Regions from separate parts of the Homo sapiens genome. Here region 1 is linked to region 2. The links are contacts of gene promoters, found by promoter capture Hi-C in human tissues and cell types (Jung and others, 2019). All regions are on one chromosome and are shown on one strand. The core of a region is centred on a gene start or on the middle of the fragment in contact, and the rest is flanking DNA. Distances in the headings are between cores, read along the strand shown. Region 1 has its middle 17 kb from the start of TUT4. Region 2 holds the start of TXNDC12 (thioredoxin domain containing 12).

Region 1 (2,700 bases), core at 20-2,519, 510 kb before region 2:
AATTACTGAGACACTAAAGGTGCCTTTGAGCTGAGAAAGTTTGGGAACCTCTGTCTTACACAGTTGGATCCTAGATTGCTCTGTTTTCTCCGCTTTTTTTGGTTGGTTTGCTTCTTTGCTACATCTCATCAGTACTGTTACCAATGCGCCCTCTCTATACTCACAGAGTACTTACAAATGCAGGCACCTCATATATATTAACTTATTTAATCTTTATGACCAACTGTGCAAAATAGCTATTATTATTATTCCCATTTTACAGATGAGGAAATTGAAGCTAAAAGGTTAAATACTTCAAAGTCATACAGTTAGGAAGCAGCAGCACAGGATTCAAAGACTCAGTTTGACTCCAGAATCTGTGCTTTTAACTATCTTATTCTGGCCTCCCAACCCCCACCCATTAATTGTTAATTTTGATCTGCTATAGACATGGAAACTAAATATCCAAGCTTGTTGGAACTACATGTAAAGCAAGAGCTGAAAGTCACTACTGGGAGAAAAGTGCATGAACTCTACAGTATGTGCGGTCTGCACAAGACTGAGCAGCATAAAATGCTCAAAAATAACTCCTTCCGGCCAGGCGCGGTGGCTCACGCCTGTAATCCCAGCACTTTGGGAGGCCGAGGCGGGCAGATCACCTGAGGTCAGGAGTTCGAGACCAGCCTGGCTAACATGGTGGAACTCTGTTTCTATTAAAAATGCAAAAAATTAGCCAGGCGATTTGGTGTGTGCCTGTAATCCCAGATACTCAGGAGGCTGAAACAGGAGAATTGCTTGAACCCAGGAGGCTGAGGTTGCAGTGAGCTGAGATCATGCCATTGCACTCCAGCCTGGGCGACAAGAGTAAAACTCCGTCTCCAAAACAAAACAAAACAAAACAAAACATAAAAAACCTCCTTCCCTCTGACTTCCCCAGCTGCTGTAGCCAGCAAAGGTGGGGGTGGGAGTGGGTGGATATTTATTGAATTACACAGGATGTCTCAGGCTCTCCATGTTTCTCCGGGGGTCATGTTTCTCCGAGGGTCCATGTTAAACTCGGGTCTTCCAACCAGCAAGTTACTGTTCTATGGAAACAAAAAAGTTTAAAATGCTCCCTTCACTGTAAGAGAGGACAAAAGTGGACAGAAAATGCAATACAGATACATGACAAAAACAGGATTACCTAGAGGTAGGCAGGCCCATATTAATTCACAAGGAGAAATGTCATTTCAGGGGCAATAGGAAATAAGAAGCGGAAGTTTTGCAGACCTACTGGAGAAAGCAAACTTCCTCAGAAACAAGATTAAGACTGTACTTAAAGTGAACCTTGAGCATATACAACCATGGTGACTTAGATGAATATCCTGGACAGAAAAGAATCAGCAGAATTTGGATAGTGGAAGAAGGAAAGTTCAGCTCAGATCAGAGGAACTCGTATTGGTTAAGAGGTTTCCCTAACTTTCTAGGGAGGAGGAACTGAAAGTTTAAAACAGAACCTACTAAGCCACCTTTGGAGATCTTTATACAGATTTCTGCATAAATCAATCAATGGGTAGTAAACTGTATGCTTTCATTTCAGACTTGGGTTCAACCTTTCTCAGTGAAAGATTTTCTTTTTTTTTTTTTTGAGATGTAGTCTCACTCTGTCACCCAGGCTGGAGTGCCATGGCGCGATCTCAGCTCACTGCAACCTCTGCCTCCTGGGTTCAAGCGATTCTCCTGCCTCAGCCTCCCAAGTAGCTGGGATTACAGGTGCCTGCCACCACACCCGTGTAATTTTTCTATTTTTAGTAGAGATGGGGTTTCACCATGTTGTCCAGGCTGGTCTTGAACTCTTGACCTCAGATGATCTGCGCCCCTTGGCCTCCCAAAGTGCTGGGATTACAGGTGTGAGCCACTGCGCCTGGCCTCAGTGAAAGATTTTTCATAAAAAGCTCACAAAAACTTTTTGTGAAGAATCCCCCTATGTGGTGATTTCTAGATAGCAACCTGGATGGCCAGACCCCACCTGATGTGCAGTCAAAATTCTGATTCCCAGAATGGACAAAATGAGAGGAAATCCTTTTTTAGTCTGAGTGTAATATACAAACTTCCTGACAATGCTGAGGATGTTCAGAGTGCTTGCTTATGAAACTGCTTGAGAGCTGGATTCTGGATAGGTGGCATTTATAGCAACATTATGTCCCAGATTTCCGAGGACAGCCCAGATTTCAAATATCCTATCTTATTGTAATTATAAGTAGGCTTAGACTTCTGCTCTTATGTATCCTGATTTGGATAGAATGAGGAAAATATGGGCATAATATAAGTGATCCTTTCGTGGAGTGTATGATGAGGATAAATACCAGAAGGAAGTCATGGTGGGGTCTAGAAGTATTAACAGTGGTCTACTAAGATTATTCCTTGGTAACATGGTGTGAAAAAAAAAAAGCTATATTTGGCGTGAAACAGGCAGAAAGAAACTCCTGCAAATTCAGGGATGGCATGTGTGCCATTTGAAGAGAATAGAAGAGCCCAGGGGTGAGAAGTTTGGGGACAAAAAAAGAGGCTACTCCTAGGAAAGGTCAGCTGTGTCCCCTTGAGAGAGGAGGAAAGGACTAAAAGTCTGAGACAATCCGGCGGGGTCGGGGTGGGGGATTAGAAAAAAGTTACACAAACACTCAGCCAAGAGAGAGGGGAGAGAGAGAAAGGAAGAATATTAAAAGTAAAGCTTAGAAAGAA
Region 2 (2,700 bases), core at 65-2,564:
CCGCTCGCCGCACCACGGCGGAAGTGGCAGCCTGAGCGGTTGGCGGGTGTCGGAAGGGGAGGGCGGGGGGAGACCGTGCGCAGCGGCCTATGGCCGTGAAGTGGCGGGACCGCCGGGGGTCTCACCTGAAGCAGGGAGGGTCCTCCAACACCAGCACGCGGCAAGAGAAAGATGGCTGCCTCAGCCGAGACAGAGAAAGACGACGGCGGCGGCGGCGGCGGCGGGAGCAGATCCACGTGATACAGCCGACCCCGCCTCTCCCTCTCCGGGGCAGCCTATCCCGGGAGCGAACATCTGAACTCCAACGCCCCGCCTGCTTTGCGCATCCCTCTTAGTGCTAGTGGCGGCAGGTGCAGGTGGCCGCGCGGCATCCTGGGGCTTGCAGTCTCCCGAGCGTTCTGTTGTGTCCCTGCCTACAATTTTAGGGAACCTAATAAAAGGGTGGTCGGTATGTTTTTATTTGGGTGTGTACTTTTGTTAGGTCGCTTTTTCGCTATGCATTAAGTACGGACTTTAGGACTCAACTAGTACCAGGAAGAAAAAGACCGGACATTTTCACCTGTTTGTTATACAGCGAAGGGGAAAAATTGGGAAGAAATCCTCAAGCTACAAGAAAAATAACCAGAAGCTTTACACTTTAGCCTGCAGTGACTTATATCCTGGTGTCCTAAGTCCACCTAAGTCAGTTTTGCAATAAGAGGTCCCAAGTTTGGTTTTCTTGGAGCTTGCATCAGTTGGTTGCATCATCCCTGAGTAGAAGATTTGCGGTTGCAAGGAAAAATAAGGTACAGAGCTTCTCCAGCGGGAAAGTGCATGTCTGCACGGCACGAGCCCACGCACCGCAGAACAGGCTTGCCAGGTCTCCTCAGAGACCCTCGCAGGAACCTAACAATGAAATCCAGTTGTCCAGTCTTGATTTGTGGAGGGGTAAGGAGAATCCGAGGCCAGTGGGCAATCCGCCCACTGTTGGGAGCGACTGACCTCACGAATCAATAATTTGCTTTTGACTAGGAAGTGCAGCGGTTCTTGGGGGGAGGGGCTGGACTGGGTGGCGGACGCGAGGAGCAACGGTTCTCCCGAACCTCTCCCCCGCCCCTACTATCTTGGCCTACATTTTCCCGCTCCGTCCCGGGACCTGGACACCCAGAATCCACGAAAAGCAACTCGCGCTCGAGAACAGCTCTCGTACCCTTCTACGTGATCTGCACCTTTAAGCTCACTCCATCCCAAACCGGACCCCGGAGGCACCACCCACATCCGTCTAACATCACTTCCTTCAGAGTTTGAAAAAAAAAAATCTGGGAAGTAGAGGTGTTGTGCTGAGCGGCGCTCGGCGAACTGTGTGGACCGTCTGCTGGGACTCCGGCCCTGCGTCCGCTCAGCCCCGTGGCCCCGCGCACCTACTGCCATGGAGACGCGGCCTCGTCTCGGGGCCACCTGTTTGCTGGGCTTCAGTTTCCTGCTCCTCGTCATCTCTTCTGATGGACATAATGGGCTTGGAAAGGGTCAGACCGCGTTCTTATCTTCTCTTTACTGATCTTTACTATACTGATCCCAGTATAATCTCTTCTTGCCCTAGCACCGTTCCCCTCCCATTCTAACTCTTAGGCCACTCCAGATTTCTTTTTATCTTCCCCAACCGCTCCTGGAGTTTGAAGATTTCTTGGGGTAGAGAGTAGCGGGTCTGGGGAATGGAGAAGTTGTACTTGAGGCCTCTCTAAATTATTGGATTGGGGGGAAGGAATGGCCCGTAAATTAAGGAAAGCATGTTAAGAGCCCAGCATAGTGCCTAGCACTTGGGAGGTCCTGAGGAACGGTCACCTTCCCACCTGGGAGAAATAGAGCCGTTGGGGACCTGCATATGCAGAGGACCCTGTTCTGGGTCTGAAGATTTCTCTCGTTACTTCTTCCGCGAAGAGCTAGGTTACTGCCACTTGCTTGCCTTTGGGAAACAGCACCTGCATCCCAGGTAGCTGTATCTAGTGCATAAGAAGAGCCAAGCGAATGGTAGAAGGTCTGCTGTTTAAGGGTCCCCAACAATTGTCCTTGCTGTGGTTCAGCGAAGTTTTTTTGTAAGTGAGCGATCAGTGGTTATGAATGGAGGTTAGGAGGTGTGGCCCCCTACTCCATCCATTACCTACATCTCCATTCTAAGTTTTAACACCTCTCTCCTCATCAGCCCTTACTTAGTTGAAAGTTGGACTGACAGTCTGTGAACTCAGAGTTTATGCTTTTCTAAGTAGATGAATTGTAGCATGGATCCCAACCCCTCTTCCTTTTTTTTTTTTCACTGACCTTACTGTATGGAATGATTCTGCTGCAATCCTTCTGTTTTTGTTTTCTCTTATCCTCTCTATTTTCACATCTATTGGTGAGTAATAAGATTGGGTGGGCATTCATTTTGCCTGAATGCAATCATTCCTTCATTCCGTAAATAATTTTTGATCACCTCCTATATTTCAGGCACTGTCCTAGGCACTAGGGATATAGCTGTAAACAGGACAGACAAGGTTCCTACTCTGGTGGAGCTTATATTCATGTCAGAGAGACAGAGTAGACTCATGAACAAATTAATAAGACAGTTTCAACTAGGAACAAGTGCTGGGAAAACAATAAGACTGTGATGGAATAGGAAGTAGAAAGGCTGGGGAGGTTGGTGGAGCTGGCATCACTTGAATTATGAAGGTCAGGAGAAGCTTT

What was found. The method cuts DNA at HindIII sites, captures the fragments that hold promoters and counts their contacts. A contact is called where the count stands out against the background at its distance.
Region 1: a fragment that was not itself captured here is called in contact with the fragment with the promoter of TXNDC12 in region 2 in 1 of the 25 tissues and cell types used here (dorsolateral prefrontal cortex).

Annotation. Positions count from the first base shown.
Region 1 is chr1:52,568,299-52,570,998 of GRCh38, reverse strand. No RefSeq gene overlaps it. Among named protein-coding and RNA genes, the nearest start is that of TUT4, 17 kb to the right of the region's middle. The HindIII fragment of the contact is 3,672 bases long and covers 1-2,700 here.
Region 2 is chr1:52,053,805-52,056,504 of GRCh38, reverse strand. TXNDC12 (thioredoxin domain containing 12) reads left to right here and starts at 1,314. Exons shown (of 7, transcript NM_015913.4): 1 at 1,314-1,505. The coding sequence starts at 1,409. It overlaps BTF3L4 (basic transcription factor 3 like 4), which reads right to left and starts at 210. Exons shown (of 6, transcript NM_152265.5): 1 at 126-210. RefSeq lists enhancers at 1-6, 7-720 and silencers at 1-25, 886-1,290. The HindIII fragment of the contact is 4,769 bases long and covers 1-1,662 here.